Linked DNA regions of Homo sapiens: all the other regions are linked to region 1. The links are contacts of gene promoters, found by promoter capture Hi-C in blood cells and fetal thymus (Javierre and others, 2016). All regions are on one chromosome and are shown on one strand. Each heading gives the region's core, a stretch centred on a gene start or on the middle of the fragment in contact. The rest is flanking DNA. Distances are from core to core; before and after follow the strand shown.

Region 1 (4,521 bases), core at 1,572-4,071:
AACTCTGGATATCTTACCTTTTTTAAAATTTCTTGGAGACCTGTTAACTCTGTAAAAGCAACTTAACTGTGGAAAGAAAATGAAATATAATTAATCCTTGAACCCTGTAATTTATCTTAAACAACGCCAGAGTAGGATATCCATTTCAGAATTACCTATCAAAAGTGAAGCAGAATAAGGAACCACAATTACGGGTGTTACAAAATGGTCTTTTGTTCCAAGGGGAAATTAATCATCCTTCTGCAAAAAGGAGATACAATATCCAAATAGACATATAAAAATTATTTAAAAATTTGAAACTTGCCGAAAATTTAACAACTGCTCTTGATTGGAAGTAGCACGAAGAAAGGAGTGATGGAAATGTTACATATTTTGAATGCAGCAGTAGTTACATGGGTGTATAAATTTATCAAGGTTTACTGAATTCTATCCTTAGGGTCTATACATTTTGCTGTACACAAGTTTTACATCTACTTCAAAAAACTGTTCTACAAGTAAAATCTCAATACCCAAAGTTCAAAAAAAAAAAAAAAAAAAAAAGAACTTCAATCATTTTGCCACATGAAAATCCAAAAATCTAGTACATATTTATATCCAACTCTCGTGCTGTTCTCCTCCCTTTCAAAACATAAGACCAAATCAAATTAAGGCAACCATTCAAAATTACACAATAAATGAATAAAACAGCAAAGCCTGAAATTCAAAAATCAATTTTTAAAACAATAAATCCAAACCTATGGGCTATTGTTTGGATACAATTTAAAGGTCTATATAAACAGCTCATACATCCAAGCACAGAACCAAATTTCATGAAGCCAGTATAATTAAGGCAAATACTACAATATCCCTAAAGTTAAAAATCTCAATACCACTCCTATTGCAAAAATAGTAACTGTTACAATTCATCTCAAGCCAAACAGAAAATGCTATTTATCTTATTAATAATGCCAATAGCAGATTTCCATTTCAAACAACTATTCTGCACTCTACTAAGGAAACCCAAATGATGATGTAGAAAAGTAAAATTAAAAATTAACTTGGAATACTGGGATTACCCGTTTACTGAAAAATCTCAATGTAATTTTTTAAAGAAGTTTGCGTTTAATACTTTCAGGGATACCCAAACTATTTCATGAAGACTTGCCAAATAAATAATTATAATTTACACTCACTTTCTTTGGTGGGGGAGACAGGGTCTCTCTTGCTCTGCTACCCAGGCTGGAGTGCACTGGTGCGATCTTGGCTCACTACAGCCTCGACTTACCCAGGCTCAGGCAATGCTCCCACCTCAGCCTCCCCAGTAGCTGGGACTACAGGTGTGCACCACCACACCCGGCTAATTTTTGTATTTTTTGTAGAGCCAGGGTTTCACCATGTTGCCCAGGCTGGTAGGGAACTCATGGGCTCAAGCAATCAGCTCACCTCAGCCTCCCACAGTGCTAGGATTTACAGGTATGAGCCACTGCGCCTGGAGTAATTTACATGTCTTTAATGTACAAATAAATGTTGCGTTAATCCAGAATCCAGTACTTACACTTAAGTACCACTGTTCCCCAAAGTGGGGGTCTGAAGATACATTCACTGAGGTCTGTTTTCCTTTAAAAAAGGGTACGTAGATTAACCAGAAGCTAAACTAGCAAAGACATCAAATTACTTCACACATTCTACATCTGAAAAATATTAATCAGGTTTGCTATTAAAGTATTTGCACAGTAACAAAAAAAGAAAAAAAGCCTATTTTCTTCAACAAACCAATATCCATACTAACACTTCAACAAAAACTACAAATGGCTTCTGGAATACTTACTTTATCCATATTAAAGTCCCAAGACTCCCTCCTATGCAAATTGGCTTAGCTACTCTTTTTAAGATATTTTAGAAAGCACCATAAGCTATACATATTCTTGTCTCTCCTAAGCTTTTAAAAAAATTTTAACGGGATTTACCCTGGGAACATAAATTCATCTACAAGAGAAATTAGAGACGTTTCAAGGAATAATTATATCTCAAATTCAAAAAAACTCTAGTAATTTATCCTACCTCACTTAAAAACTATCTTTTAACCAAGTAGTTTCATGAGCACAAATCTCATGAATTCCAATTCAAGCAGACTATTTAGAAAGTTTATTCTCATTTGCCACAGTTAAACAAAACTAATGCTTAAACTTCTCTACCCTTGAGACAGTAGGGTAATGTACCATTTATGCCTCTACAATAACACACCTTGGAGACCAACTGTAAGAGACCAGCTCTCAAAATGGGCACTTCTGTGGTTCCAACATGCTATATTTCCTTAAGCAAATTCTCCAGAAATTCAACTCTTAACACACTAAATTACACAAAAGCAAAACACGAAAATTACCCTCAAGTAGTCTGCAATTAAAATTTTGCGTTTTTCTAGTTATGAATGCAAAAAGTATTTTTGTGCCTTTGTGTTCATTTGAAGACAATAATCTGTTAAAATTTCTATGAAAAGAAGAGTGGGTCCCTAAAAGATCACTTAAGTCAGTGAAATTTAAAGCGCATTTTAAATAACTGCTATTTTTATCCAACGATTCATCCCACTTAATCACCATTATAACTAAACAATACGTAACGTGCCTCTTCTAATCAAGACTTAAGGGGATACAGAGAGGGAAACGGGAGGGAGACAGAATTTAAATAAGTAATATCTCATCAGATCCATTTGATTTTTAACTAGCGAAGAAAAAGTCATTTTCCAGATATGGTGAGGGAGAGAATTTTTTTTAACTCTGCGACTACTTCGTAAAGCCCAAGGTCATGATGTAGCATATTCACACTCTAAACGTGAGTTTCCCCTGCAGAAAATAATCTACACCAACCCATAATTATTCTTTACGATGATCCACCTTTTATAATGTAGATGTTTAAAATAAAAACCAAAGGAATGACCAATGAGAGCCACAGTCCCTAGGAAGAACTGTAAATGAAGACGAATCCACATGGCACAGGATTTCTCCCAACATCCTCAAACGGGAATCATCCGAAGGCATCGATTCTACAGCCCAAAGCCTTTGTCCACAACTCCCAGGGGTCAGAGCTTCCTTCTTTCGCGCCAGGCCAAAGTTGCTACGTGGGATCCGATGTTGTCGCCAGACTTTCAGCCAAAATCAGCCTTCAAATTAACCTGGACCGCCCAACCTCCGTGCCTTTCCGTTACGCCGTCTCAAGGGCAAACATTCCACCCTAACTCGCCAGAGGGTGAACTGCCCCCAGATCTAACTGAAAACACTTGCCCTTCTCAAGCCTAACGAGCTGGGCCTGCAGCGCTTTTCTGCCACCACTGACTACGATGACATAGCAAAGAAAAAAATATACCTATGAAATCCTTCGAGATCTTCACTCTCAAGATCCCTGGGAAGCGCACATACACCACCACATGGAAGCTGACGGGAAAGGAAGAGTCGGTGTTTTAGCAAGAAAAGAGGGTGCCCTAACGGCAGGAGCTACGCTAGATACTGGCGCGGCCGCCGGTCCCGCCTTTCCCCGTTCTTCCGGCTTGGTCGCCCAGCCCTCCCCACCCCCGGCGCCCCGAGGGGAACTGCTTCGCACTTGGCAATAAACACACACCACTGCTGCCGAGTCGGACACACAAGGCCGGAGGCTGAGGGAACTCTTCGTCGCAGCAGCCTCCCCAAAACAGGTAGACCCTCAGTGAGCCCAGAAGAAGATGGCGCCCACTGCCCCTCCGGTCCGGACAAACGGACGTACGGTTTATCTGCCCATGCGCTCTGCAGGCGCAACCCACCACCAAGCTTGCGCACGCGCGCTGCCGCTCACCCGTTTCCCCTCGCTAGAGGAGGGGAGGCGGAGCCCCGGGGTTGGCTGAGCTTCTGCGCATGCCCAGATTCTGCCCAGCCCAGGGACCTCGACTTTCAACGGGAGAAATTCAGAGACACATTCAGGGCTCAGCCGGTAGATGTGCTGAGAATCTTCGGTAGACAACTGTCGAAGTACGGCGGACAAACTTTAAAGATTTCCAGAAGTTAAGGAAAGAGATGCAAAAGCAGAGAAAAGGCGACTTGTCTTTTCAGTGTTGCATTACTGTGTGGCGTAAAACATCTTCTAAAAAGCTCCTGTGGCCGGGCACGGTGGCTCACGTCTGTAATCCCAGCACTTTGGGAGGCCGAAGCGGGCGAATCACTTGAGGTCAGTAGTTCGAGACCAGCCCGCCCAAAAAGCGAAACCCCCGTCTCTACTAAAAATACAAAAAAGTCAGCCTGGCATGGTGGCGGGCGCCTGTAATCCCAGCTACTCGGGAGGCTGAGGCAGGAGAATCGCTTGAACCCGAGAGATGGAGGCTGTAGTGAGCCGAGATCGCACCGCTGCACTCCAGCCAGGTCAAAAGAGTGAAACTCCATCTCAAAACAAAAATAAAAAAGCTCCTGTAGACCCTAGAATACCACAGAAAAGGTAATTTTACTGCCTTAGATGTTCGCCAAGTACAATCCCAACACCTGGGGGCTTAATAAATGCATGCTTAGTCGGTTTTATAGATAT
Region 2 (4,381 bases), core at 590-3,089, 2.5 Mb after region 1:
ACATTTTAGAATAAGTAGGCTGGGTGCAATGGCTTACGCCGGTAATCCTAGCACTTTGGGAAGCCAAGGTGGGAGGATTGCTTGAGGCCAAGAGTCCAAGACCAACCTGGCTAACATAGCAAGACCCCATCTCTATTAAAAAATAAATAGTATTTTTATAAATAAATGCTTACGCATATGTCTTAGAAGTTTGTTAGCAAAGTAGGGCAAGGAAAACTTTTGTCTCAAGCTCAGAGTATAATAATTACCTATAAGATACCCTCATATTTACTCTGCATTCAGGGGTTGGTAAACTTGGAAATATTGAATGCCTTTAGTTTAAAAAACTCAAGCTTTAGATTTAGAAAACACCAGAATCTATTAATTCACATTCAAAGAAGCCCACCTCTCCTTAAGAGGCACCTGCCATTAAACAGTAGAATCAGCCTTTGTTAGCACTTGTCCAACAAAAATTGTTACTTACCTAGAAGACGTTGCCTTTCTGCGGATTTGTGTACTTAAGTGATCATCAATTTGTCTATGCTTCATTTCTCCTCGATTTAGAACTAAGGAGACAGGCAAGGACAGGGAAATGGACAGACTGATTGATTGACTGATTGATTTGTTAATAATGGTTTTTACTTAATTTCCCTTATTGGCTTTGGAACTCCAGTTCACCGTCATATCATTGGGGCATACTTGTGGCCACCTGTATTATATTGCTTATGGATACTTGCTAGCATTCCCTGTTCTTTCCCTCTTGACCACATAAATTCCCATTAGAAAATGTCCCCTGATACTGCTGATTCAGTTGTCTTTATCCTGTTTCCTTTATATACATCATGTTCCTTCTCTCCCAGCAACAAAAGCCCTGCATGCCCTTGTTGGCTGACACTAGCAATGTTAAATGCTCATCTATAGTGATTATGGGCTAGGATTAAACCAGCCCTGGAGGTGAACATTGTGTTAGGTTGCACCTGAGGTCCAGTTATCAATGATTGTTAACATTTCTTTTCCCTGGTTACCATTTGAATCAAATTTTTTATTGAACTTAATGTTTTACATTTTTTCTTATACTGATTTCCAGAGTTTTATGTCCATAATACGATTTCTAATTTGTTAAAGGGGGAAATGTGCCATATATTTCTCTGGGGTCTACTGCAGTGAATGGGCACTTGGGTGACTTAAATATTTATTTGGCTTAGATGATGCCTCAGCCCACAGAGATTATATACCTAGGAACTGCTGCCTTTCAGACTCCTCTTTAGTAAGCAACCTTAATTCAAGTTCATCTGTTCTGAATAAACTGTGTTTAGCATTTTAGATGTAGTTCTATTACCAGATGTAACACAATTTATCTTGTGACATAATTCCTATTGCCCCAGATTTCTGTAGAGAAGTTACAGTTTTTCAGTCTTAACTAATCCCAGAACGAGGACTAGTCCGGTCAGCCTGCACTGCTTCCTCAGCCCTGGCATCCCATTTAATTCAATTAATTCAATTCAACAGTTCATAGTCCTCATTGCCTCTAGCCCAGGTTTCTCCCAACCTGGAGTTCACCATCTCATTTATCTTCAGCAGGTCTGATTGGGCCTTTATAGCTTTCGGGACTGTTCTCTTTCCGTTCCCAAGCCTTTGCTCAGCAAACTCCCAACCCTTTGGGATAGCTGACTCTCAGGCCCTGGCTTCCCCTCCCTCCAGTGCTGCCCCTGTGATCTTTTTAGACAAAATCATGGTCCCATCTTTCCCTGTTTAAAATTCTCGTTTATCTAATAAATACTTTAAAACATATCACCTTTCTCCTGCTTTACTTGATAACTTAGCTGTAATTCTTCACAAGGATTGTGACTTTCCATAAAACGAAATTAGTATGGTATGAAAGATAACACCAAAGCTGGTTGACATCGGTATTTCAGTAGATGCCTGTCACCTATAGGAAAGTACTAGCTGGACTCCAGCGTCCTTTGTAATGGAGTAAGTCTACTTTCCCACCTCTATCCCTCCCTCCATACACAGCACACCCAACACCCAACACCCAGCAGGCCCCGGCAGCTCACGTGTCCCATACCTAGGCAGGGCTGCCATCTCTCAGACTGGAAGGCACCTCCCGCCACCTCCTGCCCACACATGACACCACCCTTGGCATCCTTCACAATCCATTTGGATGGTTCCCTTCCAAGATACCTTTCTCAATTGTTCCAAGAAGCACAGAGGAAGAAATGTTTATATCCTTCCAAATACTTGTTATTATTGTATCTAACATGTCATAATATTAGTTTCTGTATCAGCTTCTTGAGGCCAGTTATCTGAGTCATCCCAGGATAGACATCCAGTAAATGCTGAATGAATGGAATGCATGAAATCATTTATTCAATAAGAACTTAAAATTTATCACCATTCTTTTCCTTTAGTTGATGTCTCACCCATAATTCTTAACAAGGATCATAACTTTCTATAAAATAGATGAATGTGGTATTAAAGATAATACCTAAGCTACTTAACATTGGTCTACCATGTAACCTGGGATTAAACTTTTTATTGGGAGAGATGATCCTTAAACAGTGACTCATCTAAACATGAACCTATAGGTCTTTATTTAAGGACTCATATTAAAAGTAATGAGGGAGAAGATGGGAGGGGGAGAGGGACAATTAACCTAGAAGCCTTAGGAATCATAATAAAGGTTAGATATTCCTGGCTGCCTGACCCCAGGGAGAAAGACTTGTCTAAAAGATTGTAGGCAAGTGAATGGACTTTGCTTTGGTTTCCTGAAGTTACCACCCCTCTGGTCAAATTCCTGTACTCAAATATTAAATTGAGACAGAATCGGAGTCAGAGTCCAGAAATTCTTTGGAGTGCAAACTTTTTTTTTTTTTTTTTTTAAACTCAGGGCTTTCCTGATACTTCCTGCTGTTAAGACTTTGTCTCTTTGGGTAGTTCCCTATCCTAGCTGAAACAATGCTCTGCAGAAGAAGCCAAGGTGTTTGAAAACTTGATTGGGATTTTAGATATTTGCTGATGGTCTCAATAGCCCTCTGTAGCCAACACTCTGCAAGGGGAGAGGGAAGTCGCTGCCAGTGGACCCTGTGGGTCAGGCTGAGACTCCCCCCTCACGTTACCTGAGTCACTGGCCTACTCTGTCATATCATCTTGCTCATTCTTGCCACCTACTATGGCAGGTGGATGCCTGCTGTGTGTCAGGGCATTGTGCCAGGCACTAGAGCTACCTTGGGGAAATGAGGTGGGACTTGTGCCCTGGGGAGCTTTCTTATTTTAATCTGTACATTTGGTATTTTCACAATATGTGGTCAGTGCTATGCTGGAGCACCTCCTAAGTTTAGCAGAGAGCGAGGAAGACTTTGCCTCCCTAAGCTTGTCTGTTTGTGTCCTTATTGGAGAATGCATAATAGCAATCTTGACCTACAGCCAGCATTCCAGAAGCCCTCATACCTACTTCCACTCTGCCTCTATTTGTGTGTGACTGTGGGCAAGATAAACCAAGAGCTTAATTTTCCTCATCCTTCAAACAAAGATAATATTGGCTCTGCCTTCCCCCACAGAACTGTGGAACTGTTAAATAAAACACCAGCTGTGAAAGTTCTTTGGAGTGTTCAGGGCACTGCAGACTGGGGCATTTTGTTGTTAGTAGCTGCAGTAGACCCAGGAAAGAAGTCAAGGCGGTGTCACAGCATCACAATGGAAAGCTTTAAGTCTTCATATTTGTTGTTGCTGTGAACAAGCAACATGTCTTAGTTGAGCAAGTACCCTTAGGCCAGGAAGAGTCAAGATGAGGATTGGGCAGCCCAGACCACAAGTCATGATCTTTCCTGAGAAGCAGGAACCACACTGCAGCCTCACAAAGCCGTAGGAGACAATTACAATCCCACCAAGGGGCCAATCACAGGTGAATACCCAGGCTTTTTTGAGGTTTGTCAGAGACAGTTCCTACATATGAAAAACATTTCCTTCAGGGCAAGGCTATACTAAGATAATGTCTCATTGTCCTTTTTTATCTTGATCCACTCAAGAATAAGGGCCATGTCTCTTTATCTCAGACCTCAAAGAGTCCCTACCCAATGATAGGCATTAACTAGAAGAAGGAATGAGTGGACGTAAATGAAGGGCATTCAAACGTTGTGAACTCATGATAGTAACGGACACTTTCTCTGTGCCAGGCACTGTTTTAAGTGCTTTACATGTTTTAAGTTATTTAATCCTCACACAACCCTATGAGGTAGAACTATTACCATCCTCTGTTTACTGAGGAGGAAACTGGGGCACTGAGAGGTTAAGTAATCTGCCCAAGGTCACACAGGCTGGTGGTCTGGCCCCAGCCTGTACCAGTCACTGCACTGTATGGTCTCCTGTAGGGGAAATAGCTTGTACTTTGGGGCCAGACCCT
Region 3 (4,554 bases), core at 439-2,938, 2.7 Mb before region 1:
ACATTCATTAGTGAGTGTTTAAGTCTATTCTACATAATACGATTTAGATAACAGTAAAATATTCATATCAAATTGGCCCATTAGAGGAAATTCTCTTGCCTGGTGTCCTCTGATACAAGTTTAATGCTGACCAACAAAAATGACCTGTAGGTTTTCTGTGGGCAAGTCTCTCTCTGTGCCTTATTTCTCAAGCCATGGCTCACACTGAATTATTTACAGCTAAGCATCTTTTTCCTTTGTTTTTCTTCTTGTTAAGTATGGATTAAGATCTAGATAGTTTATTTTGAAGTTACAAAATGTTAAATAGAAATTTTAAATACTAAGCAAGTTCAACCTGCTCTACATCAGCTCTAATTCCAGACTTGAACTTAAAAACTTGTATTACAAGAAACATTACCTACTTATATTTTCAAAATCATTAACTTTTGCTTCCTTGGGTTTTTAAACTTTGCTCATATTTAGCCAAAAAAAGAGAGAGATGCACTTAAGGAACATTTGCAAGTGCCATTTTGACCAATCTTTTCACTAACCTAAGTGGGTTTTTTTAAGTCTTGCCTTCCATTTTCTTGTAACGCCTGACTCCACCTTATTTATTTACTATAGTAATCAACTAAAAGGCTTAGAACAACGATCGATTTTTAAATAAATCGAATAGTATGGTAAATAGATTCCATATTTCTCCAGATCCCATTGCATTTAATCTTTTTTTATTCTTCTTGAGAAAAAAATAGAAATATATGTATTATTAATTTGGGTTACTTTTTACAAGTTAATTTCAATCTCACCCAGATATGTGTTAAAAATATCCCATCTTCCCTTCTATGAGAAGTAAGGTCCTTCCTTCTCATTCACAATTAAATCTAACACATACTCCTTGAAAGTAGGAGTAAAAAGGAGGGGCAGGAATTTCAGACATATTAGGAATATTGATTAACTGTATTCATTTTGGATATGGCAATTCACTGAGTGAACAGAGCACTGTTGGGTGAATGGTAGCAGAAGCATATTGTTCAAGCTAAAGCCCTTTCAAGGACAGATGCCAAGGTGAGCAATACTCCTGGTTTCTCAGCAACGGAAAAAGATTTGTGAATGATTGTGAAAGATTTGCACCACCTCCTAGCTGCGCTTAGGGGCTGTTCTGAAAACAGCTAAGCAGAGCTTGGGAAATTCATGTCACATACTGTAGCCCTGGGTAAGAAGTGGTGAAATACACACACACACCATCACCACCACCACCACCACCACCATCACCACCACCACCACCACCACCATCACCACCACCACCAGAAAAACCCTGCGGAGAAGCTATCAGGCAGGCGGGCTTGCCTGGGAAGGCACAGTCAGCATCCTTCCTCAGCCCAAGCGAGAGGCTCACCTCCACCTCCAAGCTAGAGCTCCCAGGTCTTTATCCTTCTGGGCGTTTCCTTGCAAATCTACTTCCTTGCAAAGTAGAGGGATCTACGCTGGCCTTACCTCTGGGGCTGCTTTCTTGCAAGTACGGTGGGGCGGTGGGAGTGACATTTCCGGAGTGGGATGCTGACAGCAGAGGCGAGCGTTCGTCCACCCCATCAGCAGCCATGACTGCGGCAGCGGCGGGGCCTGGGGAGGCCGAGCCGGGGTTGCGGCCTCGGCGGAGTGGTGGCTACTGCTGCTGCCTCTGCTGCCGCTGCTGCCGCTGCAGCTGCTGCTGCTGCCGCCTCCGGGAGGGCCCGGGATGTGTCACAAGGCAGGAAGCGGGGGGAGGGGAGGGGAGGGTGCAGGACCAGGAGGCGGGGGAAGGGAAGCGCGCTGGGAGGCATGGCTGGGGGAGGGGAGGGGAGGGAGAAAGAAAGAACCCGCAGAGTGGGAGGAGCAGCAGTGGAGGAGCGGGAGCCCAGCCAGCCAGAGAAAAGGGGAACAAATTAGGACCAACTGGGAAACGCGAGGAAAAGAAGATGCCAAGTAACTGAAAGGGGGTCGAGAGTAAATGGGATGGAGGGGGACAAGTCCTTTGCTCTAGGAAAGACGGATAAAAAGCAGCCTGAAAGGGGCTAGCGAAGAGGAAAGGCCTGTGACTTGATTACAAGAAAACTGGAGCAAAAGCAGATTATCAAGTTTATCTCCCCTAAGGAGGAGGAGGGACTGACTCTTTGCTGTCAAACTTTGCAGCAGTTATATAAAGAAAACATCTTCCTGGGGTTATCAATTCCTCTAGGGTTTTTTTGTGGGAAATCAGTTTTCAACATCTGTTATCTAAGAGAAAGTAGATCTTTGCGGAAGTGTCAGCATTCCCTACTTTTCCTGATTGATTTTTTTTAACAACAGGAATGTTGGCCTGACCGGTTTGGAACTCTGGTAACAGTACCTTTTTGGAACTATGCAGTGTGTTGCCTTTTACAAGTTTCATTTTACAAAATAGGTTGTCATCTTAGTTTTGGTTTTGTAGCCTATTGTCCCTGACACATATACAGTAAGTAGGTTTATGAATAACGTCAAACAACGAAAAACAAGTTTCTTGAGACAAAAGTTTTAAAATAATCGTTTACTTGTAAAACAGAGTTAAAACACAAAAAACCCTAAGCACTGACAAAGATTCTTTGCTTGGTCAAACAAGTAAGGTTTCTGAATCTTATGCTGGGCCCATCTGCACTTCCTTATAAAATCCAGTTTTAGCAAAGAACCCTACTAACTTAATTTAGCAAGAAGCCCCATTCTCAATATTGATATTTGATCAGGTTCCTCATCCTCCAGCATCCCCCATGTGAGGCCTGAACTCCTGTTCTGTCTTCAGCAAGAATCCCGTTTGCTTGGTTTAGTCAGAATCCCCCTTATCCCTGATATTTCCTTGGTAATTTTCCATCTACTGCCCCTGTCCTGCATGCTCCTAGGCTATAAATTCCCACTTGTCCATGCTGCATTCAGAATTGAGCCTAATCTCTTCTTCAACATGGCAAGACCCTGCTGCCATGGTCCCTATACCTATCACTATAGCCCTAAATACAGTCTTCCTTACCATGCTTTGACAAGAATCACTGAATAACTTTTTTCTTTAAAAACACAGTTCTTGCCATGTTTTATATGTTTTTCTTTTCTTTTTTATTTGGTGGTTTGTCATATTATCCAAAAGTAGTTTACATGAATATGAAAACAAATTAAAGTTTTGAGGCCAGGCGTGGTGGCTCACGCCTGTAATCCCAGCACTTTGGGAGTCCAAGGCAGGCAGATCACCTGAGGTCAGGAGTTCGAGATCAGCCTAACCAACATGGAGAAACCCCATCTCTACTAAAAATACAAAATTAGCGAGGCGTGCTGGCGCATGCCTGTAATCCCAGCTACTCGGGAGGCCGAGGCAGGAGAATCACTTGAATCCGGGAGGCAGAGGTAGAGGTGAGCTGAGATCGTGCCGTTGCACTCCAGCCTGGGCAACAAGAGTGAAACTCCGTCTCAAAAAAAAAAAAATAAATAAAGTTTTGAACATGTCTAAATAAAAATGCAATAGAAAAATAGTAATGATCTAGGATGATAATTTTTCTGCAATAATTTTTGAGTCACTCAAAAGAAACATTTATTACTCATTTACTAAGTCTAAAAGATAACTACGACATGATCTCAATCCTCAAGATGCCTGAGAGAGTCAAAAACAAGTGGAAAATGAGGCTAGCTGTAGATTTCAGTGAGCATGAGGCAAAGCAGAAGTTAGACATACGAAACTATGTTTCAAATTACATTAGGAAGGATCCTCACTCTGCTTTCTAAAGATACATTCTTTCTTCCAGAAAAATCCACTTAGGCATCAGCTGGAAATCCTAAGGGGAAATCAAATAATGATGTTTGCACTCACGCAGCATCTTTTGTGGATCAGTAGCATCAGGATACAATACAATATAAGGATCCCTATATGATATAAGGGCATTTCTAGGTCTCCAGGAACCTGGAAAGTACAGAATCAAGATGTAGCACTTCCTGCAAAAGTGCCTGTAATTTACAAAAATGAACAGCAGTGTTTTTATAACTGCAGCCTGGAGACTATTGAGTTAAAGAAAATTATGAGAAAAATCAACAAAATCTTACTACTATAGTATTCTGTCGTGTTACCTGTCACACTCCATTGTGACAACTCCAGCCCCAACCAAATTTCTGAGGTCAGAAACCTATCTATCTTATTTATAACTAGATCTCCAGTATCTAGCACAATGCTTGGCACATTAGTAAACACTCGATATTTGTCAAATAAACAATTGAGTGAATGAACAAATATACACAGTCCCAGAATCTTACTAAAACAAAATGTTTGGCACAAAAAGATTAAGAACATTTCTTGGCATTTTGATGAAGATGACAGTTTTGCCATCTGACTGATCAATTTTTTTATTCCATCATACCTCTACAACTGTCTTCTTTTTTGCCCATGTAGTGATCAGTATAAAGGTTTTTTTTTTGTTGTTGTTTGTTTTTTTCTTTACTTCATTATATGGTTTCTCTACTGCAGAACTCATTTGAGGCTCATGACAGTTACTCTTCTTACACTACAAAAGGTAGTAGATATACTGAGATTATATTTGCAGCAATCTCAAC
Region 4 (4,463 bases), core at 1,002-3,501, 2.5 Mb after region 1:
CGCATGCCTGTAATCCCAGCTACTCAGGAGGCTGAGGCAGGAGAATTGGTTGAACCCAGGAGACGGAGGTTGCAGTGAGCCGAGATCGCGCCACTGCACTCCAGCCTGGGCAACAGAGTAAGACTCCATCTCAAAAAAAAAAAAAAAGGCAAATCCTCAAGCCTCACCCCAAAACTACTTAATCAGCAACTTTGAGAGCAGAACCCAGAAATCTGTCTTAACAAGCCCTCTAGATGATTCTGATATCTACCAAGTTTGAGAACCAATGTTAGAGATTAAGATGTTATTATATAAAAATGTATAAGATTTCATAATCTGTAACACCTCTCTCTCTCCCTTTTTTAAAATTTGCACTCCTCCCCTTAACTAGAATCAAAATGAAATGAATCTGACCTCTGGGAGAGCAACTAGGGAAAGTATGTCTTACCTGCCTCAAAGTAAAACTCCTAAAAACTAGAGTAAGCGGCAGCAACTTTAGAAAGGAGTCAGAAGCAGGCAAGGCTCTACAGCCAGCTACAGAAAGAAGAGACAAATGGGAGATCCGGCCAGACTTGAGCTACAGCCCTGAAGCCTGAGAGACCTGTGAGGTTCCCCGATGAGGCTCAGAGGAAGCCCTTTCAATATTATGCCTGCCTCAAGCTCTCCTCTTGGCTGTTACAGATATAATGTGAACACGGGATGCGTTCACATAACCCCTAGGCCTCTTTCCCTATATTCAAGTGGAAACAGTAACAGATCAGTTGGAAAGGACACTATGAAAAGCAATTGTTGAAAACCAAAGTACTATGAGAAGAGTGACTAAAAAAAGCACAGGGTGTACCTCAACATGGGTTTGGCTTGCTTTTGGAACAGAACATCTCCCTTCTCAGTCTCTGCTATTCTGCCCTTGTTCTGATAACTAAATTCCCATGATCACAATATTATGGATAACGAAGATGTAAGAGGTTTTAGATAGATTTTTTTTTAGAAGTATGACTCCTATGCAGTGATTCTTGGCTTAAAAAACTATCACCCGGCCGGGCGCGGTGGCTCACACCTGTAATCCCAGCACTTTGGGAGGCCAAGGTGGGCGGATCACGAAGTCAAGAGTTTGAGACCATCCTGGCCAACATGGTGAAACCTCGTCTCTACTAAAAACACAAAAATTAGCTGGGCATGGTGGCAGGCGCTTGTAGTCCCAGCTACTCAGGAGGCTGAGTCAGAAGAATCACTTGAACCCGGGAGGCGGCGGTTGCACTGAGCCGAGATCACGCCACTGCACTCCAGCCTGGCGACAGAGCCAGACTCCATCGCAAAAAAAAACAAAAAAAACAAAAAACAAAAAAAAACTATCACCCAACAACAGACAAAACCACAAATGGTTCTGGTGCTCCTAAACGATTACTAATTTCCTAAATATAATAACACTTCAAAGCATTTATTTAGCTTATGAGCAGATATTATACGTTTACTTCTCCAGTGGACCAAAGTTACTCCATCATTAGAGAGTTGTGTACTCTTTCAAGTCCAAAAGCTACTGCTCAGATTGCGGTGTTTCTCCCTTCTTTTTTTATGGATGTGGTGGTGTGGGGGGAGAGTTGTTGGCCACCAGGGGCTACTTTGCCATTGGCACAAAAATTTCATCCTATTAATGACATATTAAATTCTTCGGAGTTAAAAAAAGTGCCCCTAGCCTGAGAATTATTGGTTCCCTCTAATCCTAAGGTGGACTTCAACTTTGCCTTCACAGAAAGTCACAGAGGAAGGGGAGAGTGAAGGTTTCGGGGGATCCTGAATATAACCTCTTTCCTTAGCCTAGTGATTTCTTCACATTCATTACCCTAAAACTGCTTTTGTTATCCTTTACCTTCCAAGATCTCTTCTTTGAAATGACTAAATTGATCATAGTTATTAAGTTATACTTCTTTCCCCATTTTTAATTAATCGTAAGTCAGATCTGCCAACCAGGAATATTATCTACATGAGAAAATTAGTTCCATGCCACTGAGATTTAAACACCAGCCAAAAATGTAAAGTCTATATCAGCCCATTCACAGCCTTACTGTCCGTTAATGTATTTTTTCATTAATAAGCTTTTTATTTTTCTGTTTTTATTCCCCAATAATTCCACCTAGACTCTAGGAATCTGAGAATCCCAATTTGGAAGCCACAATTCTACAACAGAGCTTCTCTGAGGCAAGGGTTTGGGGTGCCTAAAATCTGTGTTTTTAAGTGATTTTGATGCATCTGGTCAGCTTATAATTTCTTCTATTTGGAAAGCTCCTCTCCATCTTTTAAACACCACTCCCTCTTCTACAGACAATTCAAATGTACTTCTAGCAGATCCTAGTAAAGGGCTTGGGTTTTTAAACTGGACTGTTGGAGTTCTAATCGTGGTTCTGCCCCAACCTTGTTACTTGGGTAACCTTGGACAGGTTACTTAAATCTCTTTAAGCTTAAGTTCTTTATGTGTAAAATAGGGGTAATAATAGCATCTACCTCATATGGTTGTTGTGAGAATTAACTGTGTTAATACAAATAAAGCAATAAAGATAGAGCTGGCACACAGTAAGTACTCAATTGCTGTTATTACTTCTATAATTCTCCTACCGCTTCTAAATCACTGTAGGAGCTCTGGTTAGGACTCTACCATCATATAAAGCAATTCTATTTTTAAACCTGTCTTCCACACTCGATTATAAGTTCCACAAGAACAGAGATCATGTCTGCTTGACTTTTGTATCCTCAGTGCCCAATGTGTAGCACTGATGGATGCTCAGTGATATACTGGAAAAATGAATTACCCACCAACCCAGGGAAAAACAAATTGTCATTTCTTTTTCGTTGAAGATTATTTCACAATTACTCCATGAGCCAAATTCACAAAACTGTAGGCTTCTAACACTTCTATAATGGGTATATTTACGTTTGGTAAAATAGGAAAATCCTATATTAGAGGCCCGTTCCTAGTGAAGTATAATAGGCAAATAAATATAGCTGTATGTGAAGGAACTGGACCTAATGCAGTCTAGTTCTGAGAGTTGTATTAAGGTCATATTTCTTTTACCCATCTTTTTTCAAAAACAGGAACATGTGTTCTAGCAAATGGAGTAGAGGGATCACTTAAATAAAAATTCAGTTTGTCATTTATCCAATAAATACTGAGTGGCTATTTGCATAGGAAATAGGAAAAAAGGATTACTTTGATAAAATCCAATCATTCATTTGTTCAACAAATATTAATTGTGTGCCTACTTAGTGCCAGGTGTAGTTCTAGGCACTGAGGATTTGGCAGTGTATAAATCAGACAAAGTTTCTGCTTTTAAAGAGTCAATATTCAAGATTAATATTCTTGTGAACAGCAGATAATATCACTCACTAGGTAAAGAATATGGAAGCTTGATTAGCTTAGAAAATATAATTACGGCTTTGGCATGATGGCAAACTGGATCACTTTTATATTGGGATGGGGATCATTACAATATGGCTTATTGATTCATGAATTTAAATAAACTGTGACTAAAAAGTACACGTAGCAGTGAAAGGACCTTTAAGGGAAGTGATCTATTCCAAAGTAAAGTAGAGAAAAACATGAGAGAGAAGAGAGACTACATTAGATTTGTTGGCCTGATTCCAACAATCAGAACTAGGACTAGGTAGAAACTCCAGGGAAAGAGACTAATCACTGATTTCTCCTCAGGAGATGGACATTTGCGCCCTGCAAATTGTAAACTCTTCCCAGCGTACAGAACTATGCAGCTGGAGAGCAGCTCCAAATGAAGCGCAATGGCAGCGCTTACAGAGAGAGCTGTGAGTGGCATTACCTGTGGGAACTTGACAATGATGTGGTGGGGAATGCTCATCACATTGTGCACAAAATCAAACGTCTCGGTAAGTTTCATTTTATTTGCAGTTAACATCTTTGGGATTCTGGTGATCATATGTTGAATTTCGTTATGTTTAAAACCAAGTTCAAGACGATAAACCTAAAAGAAAGTAAATTTGCTATGAATCGTTATGTAGAAATAGTTATTTTGGTACCATGGCAAGGCTGCACTGATTTTTTTTTTTTTTGAGATGGAGCTCGCTATGTTGCCCAGGATGGAGTGCAGTGGCATGATCTCCTGCCTCAGTCTCCCAAGTAACTGGAACTACAGAGGAATGCCACCACACCTGGCTAATTCTTGTATTTTTAGTACAGCCAGGGTTTCACCATGTTGGCCAGGCTGATCTTGAACTCCTGACCTCAAGTGATCCACCCACCTTGGCCTCCCGAAGTGCTTACAGGTGTGAGCCACCGCGCCTGGCCATGATTTTTTTTTTTGAGACGGAGTCTCGCTTTGTCATCCAGGCTGGAGTGCGGTGGCACGATCTCAGCTTACTGCAACCTCCGTTTCTTGGATTCAAGTGATTCTCCTGCCTCAGCCTTCTAAGTAGCTGGGATTACAGGTGCCCACCACCATGCCTGGCTAATTTTTGTATTT
Region 5 (4,480 bases), core at 1,971-4,470, 2.7 Mb before region 1:
GCCCTGTTAAACTGTTTATTATCTAAAATCATAAAATTGGTAGGGAAATGAAATCACTTAGTTATGCTCATGCATCACTTCTCATTAATGTTTTTGTGACCAAGTTTACAGGGCAGTGTGTTTCTATAAGGGAGATCGGCAAAGAAAGTGCTATACTTCTTTACCTATTTACTTGCCCAAAAGATGAAGCTTCACCAAATCAAAGTTGGAAGACCAGGCATCTGATCCCAGAATTGCGACTGAATGGGATTGTAACCTGAGCAAGGTTACTTAATCTTTCTGAGCTCAAATTTTCCCACATATATAATACGATACAAATATTTCTACACTCTAAGCACAGGTTTTTGTAAGAATCAAGAAAGTGAACGTGAAGTCATTTTTGTTATAAAAGTGCTTTATTAACAAGTTGTAATGAATGAAATTTTACTGATGTTTCTTGGGTAAGTTGGAGCATCCTAACTTTCATAATTTTAACTAATATTTATTTTATCGTTGGATCTAATATATATGTGTCAAATACTTTGGTTTATATGTATTATCTCATTTAACCTCAGTAACACACTGTGAGGTATTACCTATGAAGTAAGTATACATAATCCCATTTTTCAAGTGGGAAACAGGGTTAGAGAGATTAAGAACTTTGTCCAGGAGTCGTAACAGCTGTTGATTGCCAAAGCCAGAATTCCAAATGAGAACTATCTTACTCCAGGAAGTGAATACTGAATTCTGTTACAGCTTTGTATAGTGTGGTATTTATTGTATGGGTTTTGGATATGAAGGGTCATATAGACCCCACAACCTCACTCCATCTTTGATAGAAAGTTCTTATGTCTATGTAAAATCTTAATCTGCCATACTTAAATTTTGGTTGATTTTTGGTTTGCTGTTGACAAGTACAGCTTGTCTGTGCTTTTTATAATGGTCCTTACATTAAATATAGTCTAAATTTCTTTAACTTTGTTAGTTATCAAGTTCCCAACTTTCCTTGCCTTTAATGTACTTCATCTCCAGGTAACAAGGCATATATGATACTCCAGGCGTTAAATTGTGTTGTGACAATTGTGTTCCTAATTGTCTCCCCATCTTTTCTATTAATGAGATAGTTTTGTTTGCTCCCTCAGACCTTTCCATTTTGAGGTTTCTTTCCCAGGTTTCCAAGGACAAAAATGTTTGATTCATAAGCTACATGGAGTCCTACTGTTAAAACACAAACTCCCATTTTAGTTTGAACTATTTATCTGTTTCATTAATTTAAATTGGTTTTCTTTTCTGAATACTACCAAAAACTAATGCCATTGCTTTTTTGTTTTTCAGATGCATCTCTTTTATCTTGCCTATTGTCAATATAGATGTTTGTAAATTTTAACAGCTTCCTCTGAAGAATCACAGGACTCCTAATTTCACTATAGTTGATAGCCACTCTTTGAAGTCTCTATCTGATTTTGATATTTTGATCATTTGGGACACAGCCTTTGCAGACTTCTGTCTCTGTGTATTAAAGGCCTTGAGTTGTTCTATGCATGTGTTATACTAAAAACTGGCTTACCTTAGAGTTGCAGTAATAATGGCTACTCATCCTTATAGTTAAAAGTCTAGCATCTTTTTTTTTACTCTAGCAAACACACACTAGCCATTTAGGATTGATTATAATATCAAATGATATTACAAATTAAATATATTTTCTGCCTGCAGTTATCAGTTTGTAGATGGAAAAGGGTAGGGTAGGAAAAGCTCAACTTGCTACTAGGGTCAAGGATTAGTACTCATCAGGTTCTGGCTAATTAAGATGGAAAAAGGCCTCTGCTGCCAGTAGAGGTTATGCAGGTAATAATGAACTGAGCCAGCACAGGACCTTTATCTTATATGTACTGGCAGTAGTCAGAGAAAAGAAGAGTGGAGTGCTAAATGAGTTGGCGCTTACAGGAAGTACAGTACTGCATTTAGATTAATGGAGTAGGCATTCTAAGAAGGAAGGAAAGCATGCAGGGATGAGCATGATCTTTGAAAGAAACTTCTTGGGAACTTGTCAAATTCTTCCATAAAAATAGAAACAGGAGACAAAACCATATTATCTAATACAGTGTCTATTGCTGTTACTCAAATTTGAAATGTGGGATTAGATATATTTATGATTTTCAGTAATTTAATAAGTACATTGACTTGTTAATGCTTTTTGTTTCCTTCAGATAGATTCTGTTGCTGTTAACATTTCAAACTTGGTGCTTGAGAATCAGCCACCTCGGATATCAAAAGCACAAAAGAGACGGGTATGAAAGTCATGTCACCAAGTATATAAGTTAGTGCTGTGTGTTCAATACTATCTTAGGTACTATCTTAGGTCTTGTTATAGGAAGAGAATGAAAAAAAAATGATGCAGTTCCTTGTCTAGGCACTTGAACTAACATTTATTAAGCACCTGCTGTGTGTCACATACTATGCTAAGCTGCTTATATGACATCTCATTTAGTCCTGACAATAATCCTGTGAAGTAGGATTTCTTATCCCCATTTTATGGAGAAGAAAATGATCCTAAGATAATATAAAATAACGTATTCAGGTTGCAGCTCTCATAGGAGAGCGAAGCTGGGAGTGGGAGTGCAAAGTAGTTTTTTTTACAAATATATTATCCCAGACTTAAAAATTCAGAATGTGGGCCCAGGGGATTCTGATGCACAACCCTAGCCAAGAACTATACCATTGGGTGAGAAATAAGGATTTGAACCTAGAAGTTAACATGTGTAGGTATACAAAATTCTTAGAGAATTATGTAGGTATCTATATAATGGTTAATTATGAAAATTTAGAGAAGGGAAAGTTCATTATGCTAATAATGGGTTGGAATTTGAAAGAAATATTATTTAGATAGGATATTCCAAATAGGAGGAGCAGCATGCACAAAAACAAATGTGGGGGTGATATATTGCATTATTGAAGAGCTATAAGGAAACTGATTTATTGGAAGTAGCTAGTTCATATCAGCATTATGGAAATGAGATTAGATAGGTAAGTCCCTTTGAATTTGAAAAAGAAAAATGATTAAATTCAGTCTTTTTAGTTGCGAGTATTATTTTATTAACACTTGATGTTTTCTATGGTTTAAATGCATATTTTTAAATTCATTTTGCATCTTATGACATAGTATGTAATTTAGTAGAGCATGGAGTTTAGTGTCAAACAGATGAGGTTTTAATTTCATTTACTGTTATACTTTGGGTACGGTTCTTCTTTAAGCCTCAGTTTCACATCTATAAAACGGGGGCAAATTATAGCTACTTCATAAGCTAATTCATTGTGAATATTAAATACTGTACTATTTCCAAAGCCTTTAACACAAGGCCTGGAGAACTAATGGGTCAACAAATGATAGTATTGTTTCTATATTAAGTAGTGTATAGTATGCCTCTTAAAAATGTAACCTAAAAGCAATGTCTTTTTCTGTGTTAAGTAGTGCATACTATGCCTCTTAAAAAATTAAACCTAAAAGCAATGTCTTTTTTTGTTTGCAAGCTGATGAAATGCACATAGTCCAACATTTCTCATTCTTGTGTAGAATTTTATTTTTGAGTAAATATAATTGTGAATTTTGTAGATTCATAAAATTTAGATCTCATGGAATCTTGGAGATTGTCTGCTTAGGATATGCATTCTTTTGTGATGATCTCACAATTGTCTAGCTTCTATAGATCAAAAAGGAAGGGCAGAATTTTTGCATGCCAGTAGCATAACAAAACATTGGAATTACGTCTACTTAGTAATTGAAACATCTTATAATAGCCTATTTAATTCTGGAAAACCTAAGGGCACAAGTTCTTCCTATCTTTATCAAAACTTGTTCCTCCCCAGCTGGACCTCTAACAACAAAACAAACAAAACGAAAACTCCCTTACCTTTCTCAAAAATTTTGTTACTTTTTCCCTAAGATACTGCACAACTGGAATTAATACTTTTGTCAGTTATACTCTCAAACCATTTAGTATCTTTTATAGTCAGCTGCTTTAACACTTGGTAGAAAAAATGCCCAAGTAATGTTTTTACAGGGTTATATTAATGGGATTTTAGAACAGAAAACATTAAACGTTTATAATGCTTAAGAAAATGGAACCTGAAGTCAGGATGCACAATCGGGTGTTAGATTATTTGGAACCTCCTTTTTGCTAGAAGCACCAAGGAATGCAAAGTCATTTAATTAATGATGTTTATCTTTGGGAAGGATACAACTCTGGAAGAAAAACGTGATAAAACTTTGTCAAGATTTATTTTAAGAATATCGTGGAATATTGTAGAGCATATCTCTTATTTTTAGTCTAGAAAAACAGTATTTTATTCAAAGAACTTACAAACTTTTTGATATGAGAGAAAGAGTCTAAAATAGAACTTAGAAGAGCTGGGTTTCAAAAATATGGAATTTGAGGGCTGGAATGAGATTGAATTCAATTTCTGTATTTTCCAATGAGAAAGCAGAGACCCAAGTTATCTCAAT
Region 6 (4,850 bases), core at 298-2,797, 2.7 Mb before region 1:
TACTTGTATCTGGGGACATCCATAATGGTACTGGGCATGAGCGAATAATTCCAGAATTTATTGCACATATACATTCAGCAGAGATTAGTATAATATACAGTGAGATACACAAAAATAACTAAAACACTTGCAGGTGAAGATTAATTATATCAAAAGTAAACTAAGTGATTACTTTTTTTTTTTTAAGAGATGGGCCAGGCATGGTGGCTCATGCCTGTAATCCCAGCACTTTGGGATCACTTGAACCCAGGAGTTCAAGACAGCCCGGGCAATATGGTGAAACCCTGTCTCTACAAAAAAAAAAAAAAAAAAAAAAAAAAAAATATATTACCTGGGAGTGGTGGTGTGTGCTTGTAGTCCCAGCTACTCAGGAGGAGGCTATAGTGGGAAGGCTTTCAGGGCAGAAGGTAGAGGTCACAGTGAGCCAACTCTTTTGAGACTCTTCCCGTTGAGACTCTGTCTCAAAAAAAAAAAAAAAGAGAGAGACTAACAGATGGGGTCTCACTCTGTTGCCCAGGCTGGAGTGCAGAGGCACAGTCATAGCTCATTGAAGGCTTTAATCCCTAGGCCCAAATGATACTCCTGCCTCAGTCTCCCAAGTAACTGGGAATATAGGTGCATGCTGTCACACCTGGCTAATTTTTTGTAGAGATGGGGTCTCACTATGTTGCTCAGTTTGGTCTCAAACTACCAGCTTCAGGCAATCCTCCCACCTCAGCCTCCCAAATTGCTAGGAATACAGGCATGAACCACTGGCCTGACCTCATTATTTTTAAATACGTTCAATGTGTCATTGATTTATTACAGTGCATTAAGTACTTACATAACACAAAGAAAACATTCATTGCTCATTTAAGAATATTATATCCTACAAATATCTATGACTAAGTTCAAACTAAGCTTATCATTCCTTTAACAAAAAAATAATCTAGATTCTGGAATGACTTTGAAAACAAAAACTCTTTCTAGAACAAAGCCTGGCACTGAAGAACCTTTAGTAAATACTTGTTGAATGAACAAATGAATGAATCAATGAATTAATCTTTATCTCTTACCAGTTGGGTCTTGGGCATCCTATTCGCCGAGATGTGTCCTTACAAATGAGAAGACAATTACAAGGGCATCTAACATATTTCTTGCCTGTTGGGGGGTTTTTGATTGGCTGGATAAGGGAAGAAAATGCAAACACAGCAATTAACCAAAGTACAGATTGTCAAAGTTTGTTTGTGTTTAAAAAGGAAAGGATTCCATTAAAACTAATGAAATATATTGCTTTTGTAACTTAAGGTTTTATTTTATGATTTTTCTATAAAACATATGAAGTCAAGTATTCATGTTTTGTGGTCCTTCAAGACACAATAATCACTGGCTGACTTTTTTTAGTCTTTTCTAAAGAGAAAAAAATAAAACATCAAAGATAAAATTAATATTTAATTGCAGATTTTGAGAGATCAAAATGTAATATATAAAGCCTAACTATGAAAGAAATATATTTCATCTAAACCAGTGTATGCTTTACCAGTTTATTACTTGAAGCTATAAAAATACTGCTGAAAATTTAGTTGCTCCCCAAAGCTCAATTTTTAAAAAAGGAAAGGTGTTATTCAATATTTTAAACATTCCTAAATTACTATCAACTAAATTGAATAAAATGTCAAACTATTTGTAAACACTTTGGCACAGATGCTAATAATAAATGCATAATCACAAAAGCCCAGAAAAACAATAGTGACATCCTACAGACATAAAATAACTTCAAATAATTTTCCACATAAATAGGGCAAAGTTTACATCTGTAATGAAGTTTAGTACACAATATTTTCATTTTAATGAAAACAAGAATGAATGTAGTTGTGATGTGGATAGATATTGAAAGTATTTATACGTAACTGCCATGCTCAGTCTAGTTTTTGAAAGTAAAAAGCCAAAAGGCATTATATTTAAATTCACCATGAAATTCTCTTAATGGGGTTAGCTTTAAACACAGTGAGGTATCCTATGATGAAAGAGAGACAGAAGAAAAGACAGGAAAAAAGATTACCATATTTGTATCCAGCCCACATATACTTTTAAGTAACATTATTGAAGTACTTCCTTTAGGAATAAAATGTCAAATAACAATTTATATTTTTTCTAATGGAAATCTCCACTTACCGTAGCTTCATTGCAAACTGTGCACTTAACCACATGCTGGTGAAGCTTGCCATCCAAATTGATTAGTGATTGGCACACACGGCAGTTTATTACTGGAATACCACTGGCGTCTGGACTGGCAATGGCTGTATATGGAGGTGGGAGCTCCGCTGAAAAGATATTAGTCACTGAATCAGAGTCTTGGAGAAATTACTATGGCTGGTTTGAGTATAGAGGCAATATAAGTAAAGAAGAAACAATCAAGATTTTCCCACGTTCTTTTATTTATTTTTCAAAGCTAGCCAATTTATCTTACTTTTAGAGCACAAACATCCATGAGACTCTTATCAAGTAAAATAATTCTTAACTCTGATAAAATCTAAATCATGTTTGCCTAGGTCTATCCCAATAACCCAGTTTCCTTTTACTAATCTATACTCAAAATGTCACTCCATTCCTATTAGTAAATTCATACAGTCTCTAACAGGAGAGTGGTAATTTATGCCTACAATAAAAATTTTACACAAGTGATCTGATTCCCAGGAAATAAAAATGGTCGATGAAAGCAAAGTTTTAAAATTGCTTATCCATACATATAAATTATGTAGCTGTCATGCTCTGTCTTTATATTGGAACCAGTATAATGACTGCTGGCTATGACAAGAATAAAACAAGGTGTTGGAGGAAGTCAAGAAGAAACAAAAATGAACCTAAGAAAACTAAACTTCTCAGCATGGAACAAAAATGGGAACCATGCTAATTTCAGACACAAAACAAAAATAAAGTAAATATAACAATTTTTAGTCTCAAAATTTACCTACCATTAAAAATGTAAGAAATGCACCAAAGTGTTTATGAGTAAAAAAATGTAGTATGTGGGATTAAAAACTTCAAAAACCATAACAACAACCACCACAAAAAGAATGGGGAACCAGATGAAACAAGTAGCAAAATGTTGATAACTGATGAATATAATGACATGGAAGGTCATAGTTTCACACTACTTTTGTGTATGTTTGAAAATTCCCATAATACAAAGACACACACACAGTGTTTTTTTTGAGAGTCCTAAGGTTGACTCAGTGAGTGAGTGAAGGGTGGAGGCCCACTTTCAAAATCAAGTATCTACCAGAAGTGTATATTTGTTACAAAAGTCTGAGAAAAGGAATCCTGATATACTACTCTGGAATGGGATTTCTAAAGGAGACTGCCTAACCCCTTTCTGTAACTATCTCAACTACAGGAATAGAAGACTTTTCCAAGGTAAAGTTTTGTCTTGGGACATTTAGAAAGGGCCACACTCTAACATATGATTGAAGCACGAAAGAGAACTGGTATCTCAAGAGGCTTCTGTAACACTATAAAATATAATCACAATAGCTAAGCATAATAAGAGCTATTTTTGAAATAAAGGTTTTCTATCCACTGTATTAGGTCCTAAACTTTGTGATATTTTAAAAAGAATTAGAGCATAAAACATTTTGGTATGTTTAAAATACACATATTTCTACCTGATCCTTGGGTTATAATATAGGATTTTTTTCAGACTGCTAAGGATTAGCAACAAGTGGTATTCGTTCAAATGATTCATAAGACAAATTTCTGCAGCAGCCAAGGCTCTGAAAGAGGCCACTTTGAAATGACGATATGCTTATGTTTCTGGGAGGCTTATAACAGAACACTGCCAAACACTGAAATTCAAAAGAAGCTGTACATGTCTTAAATTATAAAAATAATTTTAAATCCATGAAAAGAATTTGAGCGTGATCCAGAGTGACCTGTAATGTATTAATCAAGAAGAAAAAAACATGTTAAAGAAACAATGAGTCAACAATATACTTAAGGTCTTGCAATTTGCAGATTACTTTGTCAGATCTCAATAAAGACATTATTCTTGGGGAAAGAATATGTACCTCACTAGAAATTCAAGACACACTGCCTGGTATATGATAATGAATATTATTTTAATAATTATTTGCAGTAGCATTATTAACAAAAGTTGCTTCCTCTCTGGCCTTTTCCTTGAGTTGTACAGTAACATTACATAGTTCTCTCGTAATCCCAGGTCTCTATCTTACACAGTATGATAGAAAGGAAACTTAAATGCAAGACAGTTTTATAAAGAAAACAAGGGCATTAGGGGGAGAGGAGGAAGTGACATATTGCTACACTACATAAAAGGACACCAACCCATACACTCCTCAGCTTTGCTCAAAGAAATCTCCTAAGAAAATTTCAGAGGGTGATCTTAACAATCATTAAAAGGGCATTAGAGCCAGTAAAACCCTGTGAATTTTTCTTCTAAGATTTGTACTATATAATTTTTAATCTGCCAAAAAAAAAACGCCTTCAATGACAGAAATATGCTCAAATCTACTCTTTTGGAGGCTTGGGAAGTGGAGGGACATGGACAGAACAAGCAGTGAAGATTATAAATCTAATATAAGAGAGACCATAAGCTCCACGAGGCCAGGGGCACATCTGGTTTGTCCACAGCTACTTCACCAGCGCTTGTCATAATGCCTGGTCTATGATGATGCTTACTAAATGTTTATTCAATGGTTGAATTAATTAATAAATCAGCGAGTCACTAAAATTTATTAGACATATCTATTTGTCTTGGAAAAATAACACCAAGTATTAGGTTGCTGCAAAAGTAACTGCGGTTTTTGCTACGACTTTCAAATAGCAAAAACCGCAATTACTTTTGCACCAAC

The links. The method cuts DNA at HindIII sites, captures the fragments that hold promoters and counts their contacts. A CHiCAGO score of 5 or more calls a contact.
Region 2: a fragment that was not itself captured here is called in contact with the fragment with the promoter of RBM12B-AS1 in region 1 in 1 of 17 cell types (naive B cells); the score reaches 7.6 in naive B cells.
Region 3: a contact is called between the fragment with the promoter of PIP4P2 here and the fragment with the promoter of RBM12B-AS1 in region 1, in 1 of 17 cell types (M0 macrophages). The highest score is 12.1, in M0 macrophages.
Region 4: a fragment that was not itself captured here is called in contact with the fragment with the promoter of RBM12B-AS1 in region 1 in 1 of 17 cell types (naive CD8 T cells); the score reaches 6.7 in naive CD8 T cells.
Region 5: a contact is called between a fragment that was not itself captured here and the fragment with the promoter of RBM12B-AS1 in region 1, in 1 of 17 cell types (fetal thymus). The highest score is 7.8, in fetal thymus.
Region 6: a contact is called between a fragment that was not itself captured here and the fragment with the promoter of RBM12B-AS1 in region 1, in 1 of 17 cell types (erythroblasts). The highest score is 6.4, in erythroblasts.

What each region holds. Positions count from the first base shown.
Region 1 is chr8:93,737,290-93,741,810 of GRCh38, forward strand. RBM12B-AS1 (RBM12B antisense RNA 1) reads left to right here and starts at 2,822. Exons shown (of 1, transcript NR_027259.1): 1 at 2,822-3,530. It overlaps RBM12B (RNA binding motif protein 12B), which reads right to left and starts at 3,720. Exons shown (of 4, transcript NM_001377960.1): 1 at 3,592-3,720; 2 at 3,340-3,407; 3 at 18-66. RBM12B-DT (RBM12B divergent transcript) reads left to right here and starts at 3,794. Exons shown (of 2, transcript NR_183450.1): 1 at 3,794-4,170. RefSeq lists an enhancer at 3,627-3,746. The HindIII fragment of the contact is 1,858 bases long and covers 1,917-3,774 here.
Region 2 is chr8:96,265,793-96,270,173 of GRCh38, forward strand. The region is part of intron 1 of PTDSS1 (phosphatidylserine synthase 1); the gene reads left to right. LOC105375652 (a long non-coding RNA gene) reads right to left here. Exons shown (of 3, transcript XR_928431.3): 2 at 464-545. Among named protein-coding and RNA genes, the nearest start is that of PTDSS1, 6.1 kb to the left of the region's middle. RefSeq lists a silencer at 2,609-2,903. The HindIII fragment of the contact is 3,019 bases long and covers 331-3,349 here.
Region 3 is chr8:91,039,171-91,043,724 of GRCh38, forward strand. It overlaps PIP4P2 (phosphatidylinositol-4,5-bisphosphate 4-phosphatase 2), which reads right to left and starts at 1,689. Exons shown (of 7, transcript NM_018710.3): 1 at 1,474-1,689. The coding sequence starts at 1,579. RefSeq lists a silencer at 1,711-1,910. The HindIII fragment of the contact is 15,293 bases long and covers 1-4,554 here.
Region 4 is chr8:96,240,116-96,244,578 of GRCh38, forward strand. MTERF3 (mitochondrial transcription termination factor 3) reads right to left here. Exons shown (of 8, transcript NM_015942.5): 7 at 3,804-3,965. Among named protein-coding and RNA genes, the nearest start is that of UQCRB, 6.8 kb to the left of the region's middle. The HindIII fragment of the contact is 362 bases long and covers 2,071-2,432 here.
Region 5 is chr8:91,071,645-91,076,124 of GRCh38, forward strand. It overlaps OTUD6B (OTU deubiquitinase 6B), which reads left to right. Exons shown (of 7, transcript NM_016023.5): 3 at 2,187-2,267. Among named protein-coding and RNA genes, the nearest start is that of OTUD6B, 3.5 kb to the left of the region's middle. The HindIII fragment of the contact is 6,066 bases long and covers 188-4,480 here.
Region 6 is chr8:91,019,102-91,023,951 of GRCh38, forward strand. It overlaps PIP4P2 (phosphatidylinositol-4,5-bisphosphate 4-phosphatase 2), which reads right to left. Exons shown (of 7, transcript NM_018710.3): 2 at 2,155-2,303; 3 at 1,056-1,162. Among named protein-coding and RNA genes, the nearest start is that of PIP4P2, 19 kb to the right of the region's middle. The HindIII fragment of the contact is 1,299 bases long and covers 899-2,197 here.